Regions from separate parts of the Homo sapiens genome. Here all the other regions are linked to region 2. The links are contacts of gene promoters, found by promoter capture Hi-C in human tissues and cell types (Jung and others, 2019). All regions are on one chromosome and are shown on one strand. Each heading gives the region's core, a stretch centred on a gene start or on the middle of the fragment in contact. The rest is flanking DNA. Distances are from core to core; before and after follow the strand shown. Region 1 overlaps LY6E-DT (LY6E divergent transcript). Region 2 holds the start of CYP11B2 (cytochrome P450 family 11 subfamily B member 2). Region 3 holds the start of GML (glycosylphosphatidylinositol anchored molecule like).

Region 1 (3,803 bases), core at 691-3,190, 89 kb after region 2:
ATGTTGGCCAGGCTGGTCTCAAACTCGTGATCTCAAGTGATCCACCCACCTTGGCCTCCTAAAGTGCTGGGATTACAGGCATGAGCTACCATGCCTGGCCCTGGCTCAGTCTTGAGAGGGTGTATATGTCCAGGAATTTACCCATTTTTTCTGGATTTTCTAGTTTATGTGCATAGAGGTGTTCATAATATTCTCTGGTGGTTATTTATATTTCTGTGGGGCCACTGGTAATATCTCCTTTGTCATCTCTGATCGTGTTTATTTGGATCTTCGCTTTTCTTCTGTATTAGTCTAGCTAGTGGTCTATCTATTGTATTAACTTTTTCAAAAAACCAACTTCTGGATTTGTTGATCTTTTGAATGGTTTTCACGTCTCAGTCTCCTTCGGTTCTGCTCTGATTTTGGCTACTTCTTGTCTTCTGCTAGCTTTGGGGCTGGTTTTCTCTTGGTTCTCCAGTTCTTTTAGTTGTGATGTTCGGTTGTTAAATTGAGATCTTTCTAACTTTTTGATGTGGGCCTTTAGTGCTATAAATTTCCCCTTAACACTGACTTAGCTGTGTCCCAGAGATTCTGGTATGCTGTATCTTTGTTCTTATTAGTTTGAAAGAACGTCTTGATTTCTGACTTAATTTCATCATCTACGCAAAAGTCAATCAGGGGCAGGTTATTCAATTTCCATATAATTGCATGATTTTGAGTGAATTTCTTAGTCTTGATTTCTAATTTGGTTGTGCTGTGGTCTGAGAAATTGGTTGTTATGATTTCAGTTCTTTTGTATTTGCTGAGGAGTGTTTTTTGTTCAATCATGTGATCTATCTTAGAGTATGTGTCATGTGGCAATGAGAAGAATGCATATTCTGTTGTTTCGGGGTGGAGAGTTCTGTAGGTGTCTATCAGGTCCATTTGTTCCAGTGCTGAGTTCAGCTCCTGAATTTTTTTGTGAATTTTCTGCCTTAATGATCTGTCTAATACTGTCAGTGGGGTGTTAAAGTCTCCCACTATTATTGTGTGAGAGTCTAAGTCTCTTTGAAGGTCTTTAAGAACTTGCTTTATAAATGTGGGTGCTCCTATGTTGGGTGCATATATATTTAGGATAGTTAGGTCTTCTTGTTGAATTGAACGTTTTACCATTATGTAATGCCCATCTTTGTCTTTTTTGATCTTTGTCGGCTTAATGTCTGTTTTGTCTGAAGTTAGGATTGCAACCCCTGATTTGTTGTTTTCCATTTGCTTGGTAGATTTTTCTCCATCCTTTTATTTGAGCCTATGGATGTCACTGCATGTGAAATGGATCTCTTGAAGACAACATACCGATGGGTATTGGTTCTTTATCCAGCATGCAACTCTGTGCCTTTTAATTGGGGCATTTAGCCCATTTACATGCAAGGTTAGTATTGATATATGTGGATTTGCTCCTGTCATCATGTTAGCTGATTATTATGCAGATTTGTTTGTGTGGTTGCTTTATAGTGCAACTGGTCTGTGTACTTTGGTATGTTTTTGTAGTGGCTGGTAACAGTCTTTCTTTTCCATATTTAGTGCTGCCTTCAGGAGTTCTTGTGAGGCAGGTCTGGTGGTGACAAATTCCCTCAGCATTTACTTGTCTGAAAAGGATCTTATTTCTCCTTCACTTATGAAGCTTAGTTTGGCCAGATATGAAATTCTGGGTTGGAATTTCTTTAGGAATGTTGAATATTGGCCCCCAATCTCTTCTGGCTTGTAGGGTTTCTACTGAGAGGTCTGCTCTTAGTCTGATAGGTGTTCCTTTGTAGGTGACCTGGCCTTTCTCTCTGGCTGCCTTTAACTTTTTTCCTTTCATTTCGACCTTGAAGAATTTCATGATTATGTGTCTTGGGGATGATCTTCTCATAGAGTATCTTACTCTGAGTTTCCTGGATTTGGATGGCAGCCTCTCTAGCTAGGCTGGGGAAGTTTTCATGGATGATATCCTGAAATCTGTCTTCCAAGTTGCTTACACTCTCCCCATCTCTTTCAGGGACACCAATGAGTCACAGATTTGGATTACAGAATCCCATATTTCCTGGAGGTTTTGTTCATTCCTTTTCAAAGTTCTTTTGTCTCCATTCTTGTCTGACTGTCTTATTTCAGAAAGCTAGTCTTCAAGCACTGAGATTCTTTCCTCCACTTGGTATATTCTGCTATTAATACTTCTGATTGCATTATGAAATTCTTATAGTGTGGTTTTCGGTGCTATCAGGTCAGTTATGCTCTTTTCTATACTGGCAATTTTGTCTGTCAGCTCCTGCATCATTTTATTGTGACTCCTATCATCCTTGGATTGGGTTTCCACATACCCCTACACCTCAATGATCTTGGTTCCTATCCATATTCTGAATTCTATTTCTGTCATTTCAGCCATCTCAGCCTGGTTCAGAACCCTTGCTGGAGAGGTGGGGCAGTCATTTGGAGGAAAGAAGGCACTCTGGCTTGTGTTGTCTGGGTTCTTGAACTGGTTCTTTCTTATCTTTTGGGCTGATGTTCCTATGCTCTTTGAAGTTGCTAACCTTTGGATGATTTTTTTTTCTTTTATCCTATTTGATGACCTTGAGGATTTGATTGTAGTATAAGTTGGATTCAGCTGACTGGCTTTGTTTCTGGATGATTTTAGGGGGCCAAGGCTCAGTTCCCAACTCCCAGACTGTGTGCTCTAACTGGGGTACTTGTATCAGGCACCAACTTTGTTCTCTGGCTCCCGGAGGTTAGGAATCAACTGCACTGAGGGATCAAGGTGCTCCTCACTACCGGTCACTACACTCTGATAGGTGGTGCCAGCCAGTGCATTTTGCAGTGCAGTGGCAGCGGGATCCATTCTTGCTTGCACATGCCAGCAGCCGTGGTGGCAGCAGCACAGGGTGCACGTTCATCGGCTGTGGCAGGGTGCTAGCAAGTGCTGGGGTGCCTGCCTCTGTGCAGGTGTTCACCACAGTGGCAGACGAAAGCACCTGGGGGGCAGGGCCCCCTGCTGGCAACAGCCATGCTGGCGGTGGTGTTGGGATGGAGGTGGAGCACCGGCAGGCCCAGGCCTGTGGCATTCTTTGTGCCCCACAGGCAGGGTGGTCCCTATTCCGTGCCTAGTTTCACTCCCGCAACAGTGTTGGTGCAAGAGTGGGGTGCAAGGGAGGTGGGGCTGGCTGGCTCTGTGTCTGCCAAGGCTCCAACTGCAATGGCAGTCAGCAGGGGGCGTTGGGCAAACGGTACTCCTGCCACAGCAATGGCAGGGCAGGGTGCAAACACACAGGTACACTGGCGGGCAAGGAAAGCAAAACCCACCTGCACAGACATGCACTGGCAAAAGCAAGATGGGGGGTGACAGTGGGCCCTGGAGAAGCTACAGTGTGGGAGGCAGTGGGCAGGCTGGCACAGGGATGTGGGGGCTGCCCTGCTGGAGCTCTCCACCAATCAGGCATGGTCTGCCAGTGCAGAAGCTATGCTGCAGGCCCCCAGGGCACCCAGAGCTGCCCTGCAAGCAGGCGTGGCCAGGCCGGGGCCCTGGGAGAGGCCAGCAGACCAAGGCATGCTCGGGTCAGACTGGCCCCATCTGATGGGCAAGACCACCCCACAAAGATCACATACAACAGCTCCCCTAGGGCTAAAATCTCCTATGGGAGGAATTTGAGCCTGGGGGATGGCCCTCCACTACAGACGCTCCTGCACCAAACCCTCCGGGCTCTGCCTCAGCTGGCTGCTGCCCCCGCACCTTCTCTAGGCAGCTCTCTCTGCCACCTCGAATGTCCATGTGGTTAATCTCCTCCTGCCGGGATTCCAGAGGCCCGTAATGACAG
Region 2 (4,044 bases), core at 432-2,931:
CACACACATACAGGAGCGCTCCCCTTCCTTCCATTATGCGCACCCAGCCTCCTGGACCTGCCTTCCTGGGTCCTGACTCTCTCCCAGATGTCATCTATAGGCCAGCCTCAGTGAAGGCCCCGACCCACGGGTGCCCTTTTACCTAAACCCCACTATTCCCAATAGCGTTCCCTTCCTACCATGGAGTGGGGGCTGTCACCACTGTGACATCCTCATCCAGTCCTTCCCCCGTCCTAATGACAACATCCCTGCAGGTGACCGACTCCAAGCATCAGCCTCTCCCTGCCCACCTGACCAGGCGCCACCCTCTCCACGGGCCAGGAAACATCCTCCCCAGTGCCATCAACCGCCCCACCTTGTGCCTTGCTTCTGAGAACAACGGAACCACCAGCCACCTGCGTCCCCACCTGCCTCCTGCCCCGGACTGTCCCCATCAGGAAGGTTTGCCAGGACTGCAGGGACCCTGAGCGCCCTGAGGGAGGCTGTGGCCCCGGCGAACACCAGGCTCAGCACTCAGCCTGTGACCTGGGCCAGTGGAAGTCCCCTTCTCAGGGCCTCAGTTTTCTGACCTATGGGAAGGACAGTCCCCAGACCGCAAGAGAAAGCAGCCGCCGAGGTTGGTGCAGAGCGGGTTCTCACTACACAGAAGGGCTCATTGCTCTGCGTCTTCTCTGCAGAGGTGCCCGTGCCCATTTCTCCACCACCGCCCTGCTTCCCCAACCCACAGTGCAGACGCGACCCCACAGGATGGCCGTCCTCTGGGCCGGGTGCTCACCCTCACTGCCCACCACAGGGGCCCAGGGCAGATGTGCTTTTGGGTCCTACCTCTCTCGCCTCCCCCCTACACCCAGGCTGCCCACCCTGCTCCCAGCTCTCAGCTCCCAACTCGCCGCTTACAACAAGAACACGCCACATTTGTGCCCACGATGTTGTCTGTAGGCCACCCAGGGCTCCAGGATCATCCTGCAGGGATGCAGGCTGTCCACCTGTTGCAGCTTCTCCACATCCTCCGGCAGCATCACACACACCATGCGTGGTCCTCCCAAGTTGTACCTGTGGGGCCAAGCAGGAGGCCCTGCTGGACGGGGTCATGTCCCTCGTGGCCCCACCCTGCAGTCCCAATCCAAAGTGTCTCCTGTCCACCCTCCCTGCTCCTGGATTAGCGGCTTCACAGCTAAAGCCCTCCTGCTGGCTCCCTGGAACCTTTCAACTTTAGTGCTTCTGAGTCCTGCCCTCTCTGCAGTGAGCTGGGGTTTTCTCTGCACTATCCCCTGCCCTGGCAGCACCACAGACCAGCATGTGCTGCACTCCTTCCCCATCCTCCAAAGGATGCAGAGTGCCGGGACCTGCTGGGAATGGCAGTGCTGAGTGCCTGGCAGGGTCCTGGGCAGCAGGGGCAGGGATCTGGGTGTTCCCAGCGAGGGCCAGGGAGGGCTTTACCTGAAAATGGGCCCCAGCTCCTGGAAGGTCTGGTGCATCTCCAGGTGCAGGTGCTCATAACCCTGCTCCCTCCAGATCTGCAGCAGCCTCAGCCACCTGTTGCCTGGATGCTGGGGCATGGCTTCAAACGGCAGCACCGTCCTAGGGGCCCGAGCGGCTCTAGTGCCCAGTGCCCGTGCCCTTTGCAGGGACAGCCAGGGCGCTGCCACGCACACCTCTGCCTTTGCCCTGAGTGCCATTCCAATGCTCCCTCCACCCTGTTCAGCCCAAATCCTTTTATCTCACCCAGGAACCTGCTCTGGAAACATATCACGTCATGGGAGAACTGGCTCTGGACCTGCCTGAGACTCTCAGAGCGAAGGTCAAGGCTGGAGGCCCCCAGCCAAAGGTAGATGAAGGAGAAGTCAGGTGCCTAATTCCCCATTGCTGCAAGTCCTGCTGGTCTGAGGATGCTGAGAAAAGGCGTGGGGTCTGGACTGGGGGTCCATGCTGGTGGAAGGTGGTGGGACCTGGCCTCTCCTTTCTCCAGGGCTGAGAGGAGTAAAATGGATGGGGACTTTATCTTATCGTGAGATGAGAGGGAGCCTTGGATTCTTTTAATAGACTTTATTTTTATACCACAGATTTAGTTCATTGCAAAATTGATCAAAAACTGCAGAAAATGTCCACGTACCCCCTGCCCTGACACAGGTACACCCTCCACCACAGGAGCGCACTGGTTCCATGTGAGGAATCTCGATACGTTGTTATCAACCAGGGTCCTGGAGTCACATGGGGTCTCCTCCTGGTGGTCAACATGCTGTGGGTTTTGACAAATGTATGTAATTTGTATCCCTCCTTGCAGGATCCTAGGAGTATTTTCACTGTCTTAAAAAGAGGAAAAGAAAACCTGTGCTCTGCCTGCTCATCCCTCCTGCCCCAGTCCCTGACATCTCCGATCTTTTTATCATCACCATGCTTTGGCCTTTTCCAAAATGTTGTATAGTTGGAATGACACCGTTTGTAGCCTTTTCAAAGTGACGTATCTCAGTTAGTAATATGCGTTTAAGGTTCCTCCATTTCTTTTCGTGGCTTGATAGCTAATTTCCTTTTTTTTTTTTTTTTCTAGAGGCTGGGTCTCACTTCTTTAGTGGTTGCCCTAGAGTTTGCAATATACGCTTAAAACTCATCTCTCCAACTCCACCTTCATATAACACTATACAGCTTCAGAGGTAATGCAAGCACTTTATAATCATCAGATATTCTTAGGCTGGGCATAGTGGCTCATGTCTGTCATCCCAGCACTTTGGGAGGCTGATGCAGGTGGATCACCTGAGGTCAGGAGTTCGAGACCAGCCTGGCCAACATGGCAAAACCCTGTCTCTACTAAAAATACAAAATTAGCCAGGTGTGGTGGCGCATGCCTGTAATCTCGGCTTCTCAGCAGGCTGAGTCAAGATGAATGCTTGAATCAAGGAGGCGGAGGTTGCAGTGAGTTGAGATCATCCCACTGCACTCCAACCTGGGCAGCAAAGCAAGACTCCATCTCAAAATAAATAAATAATAAGATATTTTTAATTCCACTCACCCATCCCTTGCATCATTGCTGTCCTTCATTTCACATATACATAACTATGATCATCAAATACACTTTCTGGCTTTTATTTATTTATTTTTATTATTTATTTATTTATTTATTTATTTATTTTTGAGACAGAGTCTCACTCTGTCGCCCAGGCTAGAGTGCAATGGTGTGATCTCGGCTCACTGCGACCTCTGTCTCCCGGGTTCAAGCAATTCTCCCGCCTCAGCCTCCCAAGTAGCTGGGATTACAGGCATGTGCCACCACCACGCCCAGCTAATTTTTGTATTTTTAGTAGAGACGGGGTTTCACCGTGTTGGCCAGGCTAGTCTCGAACTCCTGACCTCAGGTGATCTGCCCACCTCGGCCTCCCAAAGTGCTGGGATTACAGGTGTGGTGAGTCACCGCGCCCGGCCTATTTTTATTGTTGTTGTTTTGTTTTAGCAAACTCTTAGATCAATTAAGATTAAGAAAAAATAAAAGACTTCATTTTCTCTTTACTGATTCCTTCTGAAATGCTCTTCCTTTCTTTATGTAGCTCAGGGTTGCTGACCTGTATCATTTTCTTTCTCTCTGCAGAACTTTTAAAAAACATTTCTGGCAAGTCAGTTCTATTGGCAGCGAATCCCCTCAATTTTTATTTACCTGAGAAAATATTTATGTTCACTTTTGAAGGATAATTTCACAGGATGCAGAATTCTAGGTTGATGTATTTTCTTTTTTCTTCTAACACTTGAAATGTTTCCCTCCACTGTCTTCTTGCTTGCATGGTTTCTGAGGGTAAGTCACATGTAATTCTTAGCTTTACTCCTATATAGATAAGGTGTCCCCCACCCAACCCCTGGTTTCTTTTTCATCTTTGATTTTTCCAAAGTTTGAGTATGATATGCTTAGGTGGAGACGTTTGTTTTGTTTTGTTTTCTGCTTGGTGTTCTCTGAGCTGCTTGAATCTGTGGTTTGGTGTCTGACATTAATCATTATTGATTCAAATGTTTCTTCTGTTCCTTTCTTTTTTCCTCCTTCCAATGTCCCCGTTATGTGTA
Region 3 (3,786 bases), core at 1,175-3,674, 83 kb before region 2:
TTCTGACCTTGGAAATAAAGACATCCTGCCTCAGGCCCCTTAGATCAGGCATCCAGAGATTTTTACACCTCCAATACTAGGCAAAGCATAAGCCCATAGAATCATCAGTCAGGCTGGAGTTAGAACGTATATGACTATGTGATCGTAAACCCCAGACACAAAAACCACTTGCAAGTGGTCATGAGTCATCCTCACCCTGGGAAGCGAACAGAAACCATCACTGGAGGGGGACATACCCTCCACTCAGACCCCCAGCCTCTGGTTTACTAATGACAAATACAGATATGCCACAGATAACCAGAGGCACAGAAGTGATTAAGCCCCCAGGAGCAAAGGCAGAAGAAACAAAGTCTCCAAGTTAGACTCCCAAGGAATTCCCATATAGGAATGATTGGAGGCAAATGTAAACATACAGCCTTGAAAAGTCAGGAAAAAATCAGGTCACTTCCACTTCTACATGGGATGCAGTAGGTTGTGGCTGCTCAGAATGTGACAACCGGGCAAATCAATCCACAGAGTTAAAAGTCACATTTGAAAGGCCCTTGGACAGATGTGGAAGCACCAAGGCCTGCATGAACTGAAATTCCGCAGAGGGCGAGCCCTTCCCAGGGTACCCTTTGTCATTGCAGATACATTTGTCACTTTGGGCACCAGCTGAAAGCCAGGCTGGCTACAGACAGGGACTCCGGTAGGGAATGCAAACCAGAGTGCCGTCTTGGCTCACGGGGAACCAAAGTGGCCCAGAATCTCCAGGTACCTAAAGATCAAGACAGTTTTCCCATGGAAGAGCCTCCAAGTGCTGTGGTGGGAGGGACCCTGGGGAGTCAGAGAAGGCCAAGTAGAATCCCCCCCAGTGTGGCAGATCCCAGGAGACAGAGTGCCCCTAGAAGGAGCCTGCCACAGTCATACCACTGGTCTCCATCATAAGCCAGTGGCCCCGATGGAACAGGTGTGTGGGATGAGGTTCAAGGGGAAAGTCAAAGCCTAGAAAGGGAAACCCGTCCGAGCTGAGGATTCGGTGTGAAAGGTGAGCATACAAATTGGGTCACCCTTGTCACACCCAACTAAGGCAGAGTGCCAGGTAGGGAGACCATTCAGCACTCAGGATAGAAAACATTGCTCCAAGAATGTACTTCTCTGAGGCCTGACTGCTGAAACTGTCTGCGGTAACCTGAAACCAGTTTTATCTGATGGCTACTGAGACCACCTGCTGCAACTCTAAGCCTCGGTTCACCCACTGCCGTCACTGATTCACTCATCAACCAGAGCTTGCCAGCTCCCCAAAATCCTACTAGTGCCAATGAAACTCAGACAGCAATATGTACTATTTCTCTTCTTTATAAAAAAGAGACATAGTTCCTTTTTTTTTGAGACAGAGACTTGATTTGTCCTGCAGGTTGGAGCACAATGGCACGATCTCGGCTCACTACAACCTCCACCTCCTGGGATCAAGGGATTCTCCTGCCTCAGCCTCCTGAGTAGCTGGGACTACAGGCACACACCACCACACCCAGCTAATTTTTGTATTTTTAGTAGAGACGGGGTTTCACCATGTTGATCACTCTGGTCTTGAACTCCTGACCTCAAATGATCTGCCCGCCTCAGCCTCCCAAAATGCTGGGATTACAGGTGTAAGCCACCGCGAATTTAAAAAAGCCTTTTCTTTGTTCTTTGGACATACTGAAGGCCAGCCAGTCTGCCCCCGTGCCCCTAATTGCAGTTATTTCCTCCCAAATAAAACATTTCAATTTCAGAAATTCACCTATTTTATATGACTTCGACAAGAGCCAAGCCACACTGTGTAGGAGATGCTCGGGTGAAGCCAGCTGTCCCTGGCCACACACAGCTTGAAGGCAAAATGGCAGGAGCTCAAGCGAAAGCCAGGCAGGTCTCCCCCTGAAACCTCTGCACAGGTGGGCGCTGGCGGGGCTGAAGGGCAAGGGCACCGCTCAAGCTGGCTTTGGTCAGGGTTAGGGACAGGGCCGGCTCCAGAGGCGACGGGGTCGCACCCTGAGCGGAGGGGCTCCCGGGGTCCCCAGGGGTTATGGTGATGGCGGGACCCCCTAGAGGGAGGGTCCAGGAACGAGGCAGGTGGACTGGGACCTTGAGGGCAGGGTGGGCCTGGGCGGTGCCAACAGGCTGCCGAGGGTGGCTGCTGTCCCGTTTCTCCAGCAGCCAGGGCCGTGCGCTTCTAGAACATTCCCCGTGGCTTTCCTAAAGGGAGCGTGGATGGAGCCAGGGTGTGCAGATTTCTGTGAGAAATATTTTCACCTGGGAGCCCCAAGGGGGACCCTGCCCACCTTTGAACACTGGCAGATGGGCTGGAGGCCTGGAGCCTGGGGACGGGGCTTTGAGGGTCCGGAAGGAGGGCGGGGCTGTGCGGCCGGCGGAGGCCCCCGAAAGTTCCAGAAAGCGGGTGGGGAGGTCGGCGCGGGAGGCTCAGATGGCTGGAGGCGGCGGGCACGCACACTGCGGGGCTCCGAGGGGCACAGGTCAGTTTCCTGAGGCGGGTCGGGACCCAGGCGTGAGACTGGAGTCTGCCCAGGGGCCCAGCTGAGGCAGCCTCCTCGTCAGCTGCTTGGGCCGCCAGGACGCCGCCGGGGGTGCGCCGCGCTTCCCTGGATGGGGTGCCCCCACTCCCCTCGGAGCCCCAGGGAGACCCCCCGAACTCAGCTCCTCTCAGGGGTGCCAGGGGGACCCCTCAAAACTCCACTCCCCGCAGGTTCCTGGGGAGACGCCCCCTGCTCCATTCCCCTCAGGGTCCCAGGGAGACCCCCTAATTCAGCTCCTCTCAGGGGTACTGGGGGACCTCTCGAGCTCCACTCCCATCAGGGTCCCAGGGAGACCCCCCAACTATGCTCAGGGGTCCCAGGGAGATGCCAGCACCCCAACTCCGCTTCCCTGGGGCCCCCCTCCCCTTACAGCTCAACTTCCCTCGAGAGTCTGGGGCTGGGGCTCCGTTCAGTTCTTGAGTCCCCTTCCCTCGGGGTGTCCCGGGGCCGCCCACCCCCACACTGTCTGTGATTCCCCAAGGCGCGGGTCTCGGGCCGCAGCCTGTTCCACGTTCTGCTGCTCGTTCTTTTCTGGCTCCTTGCTTTCGAAGGAGAGAAGGAGGCCTTCGTTTCCAGTCTTTTTGCCTTTTCTAATGGAGCCCTGCTTTTCCTTCCGTGTCCCTTCAGGCTACTTCTGCCAGGTTTCTATTTTTCATTCTTTATTATGACTTTGCCCAAAATATTCTTGACTTCTATTGAGAAGGATTTGGGGGTCTATTTCTTATTTGGAGGTGTGTTCTTAAGTTCCAAACAGATGAGGATTTTCCAGTTAATCCTTCTGGGGTGACTTATTGCTTAATGCCACCATAGTCAGAAAATGGACTCTCAGTGTCCGAAACTGCATTCGGCTCTGAAGTGTCTGTCCTTGTCACCTCTTGCAATGTTTTTTGCCTGGAAGCCTGCACTCGCCGACGCTGACGTAACTGTTTCTGCCTTTCAGTTCTACAGCCTCCTTTGCTTTGTGATATTGTCATATACTTTATTTCTATATATGTTATGAACTCAATATTTCTTGTAGTGGGTCTGCTGATAATAAGATATTCCTACTCTTTTTGTCTGAAGCCATCTTAAGCTTACCCTGTATTTGCCCCATGCATCTCTTCCGTTTCACGGTTCCTGAGTTGTCACCTTTGTGATAAACTGGTAATAGTAAGTAAACTGTTTTCTTGTGCTCTGTAAGCTGTTCTAGCAAATTATCTAGGAGGAGGTGGTCTTGGAAACCCTTGATTTATAA

What was found. Contacts are between HindIII fragments. The study calls those that stand out against the background at their distance.
Region 1: a fragment that was not itself captured here is called in contact with the fragment with the promoter of CYP11B2 in region 2 in 4 of the 25 tissues and cell types used here (H1 embryonic stem cells, pancreas, spleen and 1 more).
Region 3: a contact is called between the fragment with the promoter of GML here and the fragment with the promoter of CYP11B2 in region 2, in 2 of the 25 tissues and cell types used here (mesendoderm cells and neural progenitor cells).

What each region holds. Positions count from the first base shown.
Region 1 is chr8:143,005,218-143,009,020 of GRCh38, forward strand. The region is part of intron 1 of LY6E-DT (LY6E divergent transcript); the gene reads right to left. Among named protein-coding and RNA genes, the nearest start is that of LY6E-DT, 11 kb to the right of the region's middle. RefSeq lists enhancers at 2,505-3,318, 3,319-3,803 and a silencer at 3,174-3,263. The HindIII fragment of the contact is 5,135 bases long and covers 1-3,803 here.
Region 2 is chr8:142,916,162-142,920,205 of GRCh38, forward strand. CYP11B2 (cytochrome P450 family 11 subfamily B member 2) reads right to left here and starts at 1,682. Exons shown (of 9, transcript NM_000498.3): 1 at 1,441-1,682; 2 at 898-1,053. The coding sequence starts at 1,679. RefSeq lists a promoter at 1,681-3,701 and an enhancer at 2,688-2,969. The HindIII fragment of the contact is 14,293 bases long and covers 1-4,044 here.
Region 3 is chr8:142,832,377-142,836,162 of GRCh38, forward strand. It overlaps GML (glycosylphosphatidylinositol anchored molecule like), which reads left to right and starts at 2,425. Exons shown (of 4, transcript NM_002066.3): 1 at 2,425-2,492. The HindIII fragment of the contact is 25,891 bases long and covers 1-3,786 here.